Linked DNA regions of Homo sapiens: region 1 is linked to region 2. Evidence: promoter capture Hi-C in 16 types of primary human blood cells and fetal thymus (Javierre and others, 2016). All regions are on one chromosome and are shown on one strand. Each heading gives the region's core, a stretch centred on a gene start or on the middle of the fragment in contact. The rest is flanking DNA. Distances are from core to core; before and after follow the strand shown.

Region 1 (4,909 bases), core at 1-2,500, 2.6 Mb after region 2:
CGCGCGCGCCAGGCTTTCGCTATATGGGCGGCCGGTGGGGCGGGGCCTGGAGCGTGATGTCAGCGCGCAGCGGCACGTCCGTCCCGCGTCGTCCCTGGGCTAGATGGTGACTGGCGAGTCCGTTGCCCGCGACGTTTCGGTGTAGTGCGGTCTTGCTAGCTTCTAGGATTTTTCTCTAGCCCTCCCCACCGTCTTTGAAAACACAATGTCTCTAATCCAGCCGCAGAACTGCTTTCTAATTTGTACCTTTTATAAAACTGTGCGCGATCTCTTCGGGGTTGAAGCTCGGGAGGCGGGCTGAGCGAATCCCCGTTTTTCATTGGTTCTCGAGGTTATCATAATAGGTCGCCGCGGTCTCTGCTTGGTGGCTTAAAACGAGGCTGCGGATTTCTCCCAGCGATTGGTTGATGCTCGTTTTGATGGGGACCGCGGTCTCGGACCCAGTCGCTTGTCTTGTTTCGCAGAATCTGAGGATCGCGCGCCGAGGTCTTGCTGACCGGGCGGAGGTCGCGTTGCGAGCGCGCAGACCCGCCGACATCAGCCTCTCCGGGTCTCACTCGCAGCCTTCGCCTCCCCGGACGTTCCCCTCTCCCTCCATGGGTCTTTCTTGGAGCCCTGGCAGCTTGACTCACTTGTGGATTGGGCTATCCGTGGCAATCCTACGCTCACTGTAGGTGCTCAAAAGGGAGCGTGGACGAGACCCGGCAGCCCTCCCACAGCGACGAACGATTTTTTTTCTCCCGTGTATGGAAAGTCCTTTGTCCCAATACTATCATTTCCTCCACTGACTTGAAAGTGCCTTATTTTGTGAGTTTATCAATGGAGATGCTATTTAAAGCTGTAGAACCAGATTGAAAACCTCAAAGGAGTAAGTTTAAGTGGAGAGCGGAAGACCCAGGCCAACGCCTGGGGTACTCTGAAATTTAAGCGCAGGAAAGGAGACTGGGAGGAGTGACTAGCGAGGTAGGGAGAAGACCAGGAGAGTAGGTGTCACCGCCGAAGCTAAAAAAAAAAAAAAAAAAAAAAAGGGATATCACTGAGATAACACCAGCTCTTTAGATATTTATGTATTCCTGCTCTGTTTTGAGTGGTGCAACCTCAATATCCTTAAGCTTCGGGTTGAAAAAGGGGGGTTTTGTCCTCCTGGAGCTATTTGGAAGTCTAGAGGGAAACGTTGTTTGTCACGACTGGGGGAGGTAGAGGCCGTGCTTAAAGTTAGATAAATAAAAAATACGAGTCTGTAATCCCCACACCTTGGGAAGCTGAGGCAAGAGGATCTCTTGAGCCCAGGTGTTCGAGGCTGCAGTGAGCTATGATCATGCCACTGCACTCCAGCCTGGGTGACAAAGCAAGACTCCAACCTGCCTGAAGGAAAGAACAAAGCTTCCGCAGCGTGGAAGGGGACCCGAGCGGGTTGCCACTGCTGGCTGGACCGCCAGTTTTTAGTCCCTTATTTGGCCCTGCCTACATCCTGCTGATTGGTCCATTTTACAGAATGTTGATTGGTCCGTTTTTACAGAGTGCTGATTGGTGTGTTTACAAACCTTTAGCTAGACAGAGAGCACTGATTGGTGTGTTTTCAATCCTTTAGCTAGACGGGAAAGTTCTCCAAGTCCCCACCCAACCCAGAAGCCCAGCCGGCTTCACCTCTTCACCTCGGTAGGCAGAATAAGGGTTCCCCCTAAAGATGTCTATGTCCTAATCCTAATCCTAATCCCTGAAACCTGTGAAGATGTTACCTTGTATGTCAAAAGGGACTTTGCAGATCTGATTAAGTTGAGCATCTTGAGATGCAGAGATGCCCCGGGATTGTCCAGGTGGGCCCCATGTGATCATAAGGGTGATTACAAGAGGGGGACAGGAGAGCCACAGTCAGAGAAGCAGATGTGACAAAGGAGGCTGGGATTGGGGTCAGAGTGATTGGCTGTAAGAAAGTCACAACCGAAGTTAATGGCTTTGAAGATGGAGGAAGGAACCATAAGCCAAAGGGTGCCAGTAGCCTCTGGAAGCTGGAAGACACGAGGGAACAGATTCGCCCCAGAGCCTCCTGAAAGAACGCAGCCCAGGCCAGGCTCTGTGGCTCACACCTGTGCCATCTCGGCTCACTGCAACCTCCGCCTCCTGGGTTCAAGTGATTCTCCTGCCTCAGCCTCCCGAGTAGCTGGGATTACAGGCATGCACCACCACGCCCAGCTAATTTTGTATTTTTAGTAGAGACGGGGTTTCACCATGTTAGGCTGGTCTCGTTTCGAACTCCCAACCTGAGGTGATCCACCCGTCTCTGCCTCCCAAAGTGCTGGGATTATAGGCGTGAGCCATTGTGCCAAGCCCAACACCAGCTCTTTGGATATTTTTGTATTCCTGCTCTGTTTTGAGTGGTGCAACCTCAATATCCTTCCGCTTCGGGTTGAAAAGGGGGGGCGGGGTTTGCCCTCCTGGAGCTATTTGGCAGTCTGGAGGGAAACGTTGTTTGTCACGACTGGGGGAGATAGAGACCGTGCTTAAAGTCAGATAAAAAATATGATTCTGTAATCCCTGCACCTTGGGAAGCTGAGGCAGGAAGATCTCTTGAGCCCAGGAGTTCGAGGCTGCAGTAAGCTATGATCATGCCACTGCACTGCAGCCTGGATGACAAAGCAAGACACTGACTCAATGAAATAAAGAAAAGCAAGGAGCAAGGCGTAGTAGCTCACGCCTGTAATCCCAGCACTTTGGGAGGCCCAGGTGAGAGGATTGCTTGAGCCCAGGAGTTCGATATCAACCTGGGCAACATGGCAAGATCCCATCTCTACAAAAAACTTTTTTTTTAAAAAATTAGCTGGGCATGGTGGCACATGCCTATAGTCACAGCTATTGGGAAGGCTCTCAACAGGGGGCAGTGGTTCTCAACAGGGGGTAGTTCTGTCCCCCCTGCGGACATCTGTCAATATCTGAAGACTTTCTGGTTGTCACAGCTGGAGGAGGGAAGGAGCTGCTCGTATCTCATGGGTAGAGGCCAGGGATGCCACGAAACATCCTGCAAGGCACAGGACAGCCCCACCACGAAGGATTATCTGGTCCCCAATGTCAATAGCTGAGGTTGAGAAGTGCTATTCCAAATGAATCCTGTACAGAAGTTTTTTTCTTTTCTTTTTTAAATAGAGGCAGGGTCTCCCTATGTTACCCAGGCTGATCTTGATCTCCTGGGCTCAAGGAGTTCAAGCCTCATCCTCCCAAAGTGCTGGGATTACAGGCATGAGCCACCATGCCCAGCCTATGGAAGTTTTTAAAACGAAGTTTGGACTAGCTTGGCAACATGCAATCCAATCTCCCAGTTGGAAGAGCCTCAGAGGATCTTTCAGTCATCTGATTCATGATTCTTTCTAACTCTGTCACTGACAGTTTCCAATTCTGGATTCTGTTCCTGGAGCAACTACTGCTATATTCACTCCACTCCATACAAATACACCTGAGTTGCTACGAGAGGGGATTTGCCGGGCACCGTGGCTCACACCTGTAATCCCATCACCTTGAGAGGCAGAGATGGGATCACTTGATCCCAGGAGCACAAGACCAGCCTGAACAACATAGCAAGACTCCATCTCTTAAAAAAAAAAAAGGCCAGTACTGGCGGCGTATACTTGTAGTCCCAGCTACTCCAGGGACTGAGGTGGGAGGATCACTTGAGCCCTGGAGGTCAAGGCTGCAGTGAGGTATGATGGCTCCACTTCACTCCAGCCTGGGTGACAGAGCAAGACTCTTGTCTAAAAAAGAAAGGAGAGAAAGGAAAGAAAGAAATAAGAAAAGATATGAGCTCCCATGCTGCACATCTACCATTTCTCCTTTGAGTTGTTCTCCCAACACATCAGCAGAGTTGGGTCCTCAGGAAGACTCCACAGAATGGTGACAATCCAGCACCTCTCTCAATTATGATATTTGAAACTGTTTTCTCTTCCGCAGCAGTGCTCTTGGGTTTTTTGTTAGGGGTAGCCACTGGGCTTTGGGAAAGAGAAGTGAGAGGAAGAGTGGATGATATCAGCTGCATCTTTCTCTTTGACAAACGAATTCCCTATCCTTCAATAAATACTATCCCACTAACTCCCCAAAGCAATGTCCAGTCCCACCAATACCGTAAGAGTGTCATTTCCTGCTTCAACTCTTGCAAATAATTTTAATAAATTTTTTAAAAATGAGAGTTTGATGAGTAACAAATGTTATCATTGTCAAATTCTCCTTTCCCTAACTACATTCCATGGACTTAAGCCTCTCTCTATACATATTTATGTATACATGCACATATAAATCTTGCTGCTGCCCACTCTTTGGGTCCGCACTACCTTTAAGAGCTGTAACACTCACTGCAGAAGGTCTGCAGCTTAAGACCACGAACCCACTGGAAGGAAGGAACTCGGGACACATCTGAACATCTGAAGGAGAAACTCCGGACACACCATCTTTAAGAACTGTAACACTCACTGCGAGGGTCCGCGGCTTCATTCTTGAAGTCAGCAAGACCAAGAACCCACCGGAAGGAACCAATTCCACACACACTACCACAGGGACTCTGAAATTTTGTTAAATTTAGGAATGGAAGCTGGGTGCAGGGACTTGTGCTTGTAATCCTAGCGCTTTGGGAGGATGAGGTGGGAGGATCTCTGGAGGCCAGGAGTTCAAGACCAGCCTGGGCAATATAGCAAGTCTACAAAAAATGAAAAAAGGCCAGGCACAGTGGCTAACGCCTGTAATCCCAACACTTTGGGAGGACGAGGTGGGCAGATCACTTGAGGTCAGGAGTTCGAGACCAGCCTGGCCAAAATGGTGAAACCCTGTCTCCACTAAAAACACAAAAATTAGCCGTGTGTGGTGGTGCAGGCCTGTAATCCCAGCTGCTCGGGAGACTGAGAATCGCTTAAACCCGGGAGGTGGAGGT
Region 2 (4,911 bases), core at 1,617-4,116:
CACTGCTGGTTCAGGCAGCCTGCTTTTATTCGCTTATCTGGCCCCACCCACATCCTGCTGATTGGTCCATTTTACAGAGAGCCGATTGGTCTGTTTTACAGACAGCTGATTGGTCCGTTTTGACAGGGTGCTGATTGGGGCGTTTACAATCCCTGAGCTGGACACAAAAGTTCTCCACGTCCCCACTAGATTAGCTGGATACAGAGTGTCCATTGGTGTATTTACAAACCCTGAGCTAGACAGAGTGCTGATTGGTGCATTTACAAACCTTGAGCTAGATACAGAGTGCCAATTGGTGCATTCACAATCCCTTAGCTAGACATAAAGATTCTCCAAGTCCCCACTAGATACAGAGTGTGGATTGGTGCATCCACAAACCCTGAGCTAGACACAGGGTGCTGATTGGTGTGTTCACAAACCTTGAGCTAGACACAGAGTGCTGATTGGTGCACCCACAATCCCTTAGCTAGACACGAAGGTTCTCCAAGTCCCCACTAGACTCAGGAGCCCAGCTGGCCTCACTCAGTGGATCTTCCACTGGGCCGCAGGTGGAGCTGCCCGCCAGTCCCGCACCGTGCACCGGCACTCCTCAGCCCTTGGGCGGTCGATGGGACCAGGCACCTTGGAGCAGGGGGCTGCGCTCGTCAGGAAGGCTCAGGCCGCGCAGGAGCCCGAGGGAGGAGGGTTGGTGGGGCGGAGAGACTCGGGCATGGCTGGCTGCAGGTCCCGAGCCCTGCCCCACGGGGAGGCAGCTAAGGCCCGGTGAGAAATCGAGTGCAGCGCCGGTGGGCCAGCACTGCTGGGGGATCCGGCGCACCCTCCACAGCTGCTGGCCTGGGTGCTAAGTCTCTCACGCCTGGGGCCAGCAGGGCGGGCCGGCCGCTCCGAGTGTGGGGCCCGCCAGGCCCACGCCCACCTGGAACTCTAGCTGGCCCGCAAGCGCCGCGCGCAGCCCCGGTTCCCGCCCGTGCCTCTCCCTCCACACCTCCCCGAAAGCGGAGGGAGCCGGCTCCGGCCTCGGCCAGCCCAGAGAAGGACTTCCATGGTGCAGCGGCGGGCTGAAGGGCTCTTCAAGCGCGGCCAGAATGGGCGCCGAGGCCGAGGAGGCACCGAGAGTGAGCAAGGGCTGTGAGGGCTGCCAGCACGCTGTCACCTCTCAATAGGGTTGTGAGGATTAAATGAGATGATATGTGTAAAGGATTCAGCACATGGTAGGCACACAATAGATGTTACCTATTATGTAAAGCAAACATCTAAATAAGAAGTCACCAAGTCCTGAGCACCTGCCTCCCTACAAGAATCTTTCTTCATAAAATTAACTTGCTCCTCTATCAAAAATACTCATCAAACACTATATATTATCGTTTGTTTATTGCTCATATTCCCTAATAGGCCATGAGCTCCCTAAGCACAAGGATTTTGTCTACCTTACTCTCTACTCTCCACAAAATCAAGTGCATAAAAAACACTCATTAAACACTTAATACACAAGTCACTGAATACATCTTTTGGCTAAAGTCCACTACCCACTTGAGGTACTGCCACTCACCTCTAAACCAACATTTTTCCCTAAGCTTGGTTATCTTAATCATCTAATTAATATGATTCTTCTTAAATTTTCATAGTATTAGGATCTATATTGGAGGGAAAGGAATAAGAATGAACATTTGTTGGGTATCCATTATTTGACAGACTTTATGTCTTCATTTCTAATTTCATACAGTCTTATAAAGTGGGAATTGGAATAACCCACTTTGCCTGTGAGTAAACTAAAGTTCTAGTTACAACCATTGAGAATCCCTATTTCTTTCCATCACAGCGTTTATCTCAGTTTGCAATTACACACTCAAGTGTGATTATTCGTCTAATGCTTTCACCAGACTGTAATCTCAAAGATAGCAGAAAAGGGTCTGCATTTGCTCATAACAGCGCCTAACAAGCAGGCATATAATAAGTATAGGGCTACATAGTAGGTATGTAATAAACATTCAGTGAATAAATGAGTGGAGTGAGCATAGGGGTAGATGTCAAAGAAATCTGGCTTCTTGTAGTGTTTAAATTCCGCAGGCACCATTTTTTCTTAGTAGGCAATATTCGCAAGGAGAAGAACTAGACCCCATGGAGTCTGAGGCGTTTCCAACACTAATAAAAGAGTACCTGATTAATATAGCTATGGCTGTGATTAATAGAGTGCATTTACTATTGTGTGAGCAAATCCCATTCCCTGTGACAAATGTATTCTATACATGAAATGAACAGTACAACATTTTACAGGCTTCACGGTCAACAGTTACATTCCGGGAAATTTTTGACGTTGAACGAATATTCCAAGAATAAATAACTCAAGAAGAACCTGTGACTATATCTCCAGAAACCTTTTGCCGCTTGTCAGTGAAACTAATAGAGTACAGAGCCTATTTAAATGTAAATTTAAATACAACATTTTCTCCACCTTTCTGCTCTCTTTGTTCCTTGTGGTCCGGAGGTTACAGGACTATATATATTCTCCAATACACACGTGTATAGGGATTTGGGGTTTTTGCTTTCAGTTTTATGCAAGACTAAATCAAGGTATTTGGGGATTTGAATGTTCTGTTCCCACAGTTAGGGAGGAGGGAATGTGCTCTGAAAACAGAAAAAAAGTACTCTGGGGCGGGGGCTGAGGCGACCACCGTGGGGCCCATCCTCAGCCTAGGACGCTGTTGCTAGGCAACTCCCTGCGTTCTCAACTCCCGCCCGAGAGCCACTTCCCGGGCCCTCATTGCCAAGGAGATCGACGCCCCAACTCAGCCCTGCCGTAAACACGCGCGGTCTTGCGACAGTGCCGCGCCTGCCGCTACGTGCGCGCCCTCTGCCCCCATCTCCACTCTCCGCCCGGCCGCCATTGCCTCGTGCCCGCGCCGGTCGGTTGGTGGCGCCTTTGTCCTACGGCGGGCAGGTGGGCCGACGCGGAGGCGGCAGCGGCGGGCCTGAGGCGAAGGAGCGGCCGGGAGCCCGCCGCGCTGGTAGCGGTGAGTGCCGGGAAGCGCTGGCCGTCAGCCGAGGCGTGGGGCTGACGGGCAGGCCGTTGTGGGGGGCCTGGCCGGACGGGGAGGCTGAGGCGGGAAGGCCCACTCGACGCGCGGCCACGGTCTCGGCTCCTCTCCGGGTGCGCGCGGTGCTGCGCATGCCCGGTGCGGGGCGCGGCCGCCTCCGGCTCCCGTCAGGCCCAGGCCCGGCCGGCCGAGGCGGCCTACGGTTCTCTGTGGTGGACGCAGGTCGGCGGCGTCGCATCGCAGCCGCCTGTCTGTGCACGAACGGTCGGTCACTAGGAGTCCTCAAGGCTTCTCTGGTTGAGCCGCACATCCCGCACCCCCTGTCGAAACGGTGGAGTCGCTCGCCCGCGGGTCCTCAGCGAGTCAGTGGCGCAGTCGGGATTCGAACCGGGCCCAAGGCGTCCCGTGGCACCGGGCGTTCTCCAGGCGTGCAGCGCCGAGCGGTGTACTGAGCGCTGTCCCCCGCCACCGTCTCGCGGCCCCTGACCGCATTCTCGGGGTGTCTCCTTGTGGTGTGACACCCCACGCGTTTTGTAGGCGCGGACCTCGGGCCCAGAGAACGGGGAGAGGAACTGTTCCCGGGTTTACCACGTAGCTCAGCGCCAGCGTCCGATCCGGCCGGCTTTCCAAGCTCCCGGCGCGGGGCACTGTCCGCTCCCCGCCAGCGGGCGAGGGGCTTCTCTTAGGACGGCGTTGCACACGTTTCAGTCTCGCGTTGCACCTTTATGTCCGTGGACCATCTGTACTGCTATTTACCAAATGTTACATTTTTTAAAAAATTCAAACTGACTCTTTTTTTCTCCTTAAATATATTTAAGGCGGCAACTTCAATCACAAACCGGGTACTGGAAAGCCAGTTATTTTTCTAATGCTTATAAAAAAAATAAATATCTGTCTGTTGAAATAAACAGTGCGTCCTTGTTCCTCCTGAAATTATTCTGCGTTCCACACTTTGGGAAACGCTGCCCGAGGAGTAGCTGATTAATTGTGGTTCTTCTGGCTTGCACTCTGTGCACAGAATTTTTCCTGAGGCAAAGCAGATTCTATGAATGCCCTGGGCTCTTCAGGGATAATGTAACAGCTTTCTTGTAAACTGTTCTCTTTGTTGACTTAAAAGTGTTAGTCCCAGGGAACTGCAAGAACTGTGTTCACTCAGGTGCACCCGGTGTGCCTGAATTTTCTTACAGCGTTGTGATGTCGTAGCCCCCTGTTGGCTCATAAAAAGATGTTTCTACAAATGCTGGGGAAGCTTTTGTGAGTTTTGACAACTCTTAATTTAATGTTTTCTCTATGAGTCAGTCTGGGTGTGAAAACTAACTTTGTGTCTACTTTTTGCAACCAGTAAAGCCCATGCTTTGCATTGTGGATATTAGAAATCACTTGGCTATTTGTTAACATCCATTTCTTCCTTTATTGTGATTTCTTTGCCTTTCTTTGAGCTCATCTGTCACTCTTCAGATTGCCTTTGAAACCTCTGACACTTCTCTTAACCTAAAACTTAGAAACACTGATTTTCCTTGTAGAATGTCCCAGCGAATCCATATTGCAAGGCTCATTGGAAGGAGTTTTTCTAGATTCAGTTTGCTCAATGTTGCATACCTGTGAACACCACAAGTTTAAAGGAGGCATTGACAGATTAACTTACTTGTAAGTTAATAGTGTGTTCATAAGATCTGTTTATGTGAATGTAAGAGCAGATTTAATTTAAATCATTGACAGGAAAGTCCCATAAGTCAGTTCAGGCTTATTCAAGTTTTCTTCCCCTCCCCTCAAAGGCTGTGTAAAAAAATATATATATATGTATATGTATATATATGTGTGTGTGTGTATGTATCTCTCCCCCTGTTAAAAACATGTTTCTTTGGGGTTACCTTGG

Evidence for each region. Contacts are between HindIII fragments. The CHiCAGO score rates a contact against its expected background, and 5 or more counts as called.
Region 1: a contact is called between a fragment that was not itself captured here and the fragment with the promoter of NCOA5 in region 2, in 5 of 17 cell types (non-activated CD4 T cells, naive CD8 T cells, naive CD4 T cells and 2 more). The highest score is 9.7, in non-activated CD4 T cells.

What each region holds. Positions count from the first base shown.
Region 1 is chr20:43,452,981-43,457,889 of GRCh38, reverse strand. No RefSeq gene overlaps it. Among named protein-coding and RNA genes, the nearest start is that of SRSF6, 2.5 kb to the left of the region's middle. RefSeq lists enhancers at 1-196, 118-277, 338-657. The HindIII fragment of the contact is 271 bases long and covers 1,115-1,385 here.
Region 2 is chr20:46,087,917-46,092,827 of GRCh38, reverse strand. NCOA5 (nuclear receptor coactivator 5) reads left to right here and starts at 2,866. Exons shown (of 8, transcript NM_020967.3): 1 at 2,866-3,011. RefSeq lists enhancers at 2,703-2,752, 2,766-3,579, 3,433-3,642, 3,580-4,394 and a silencer at 2,913-3,262. The HindIII fragment of the contact is 2,710 bases long and covers 1,577-4,286 here.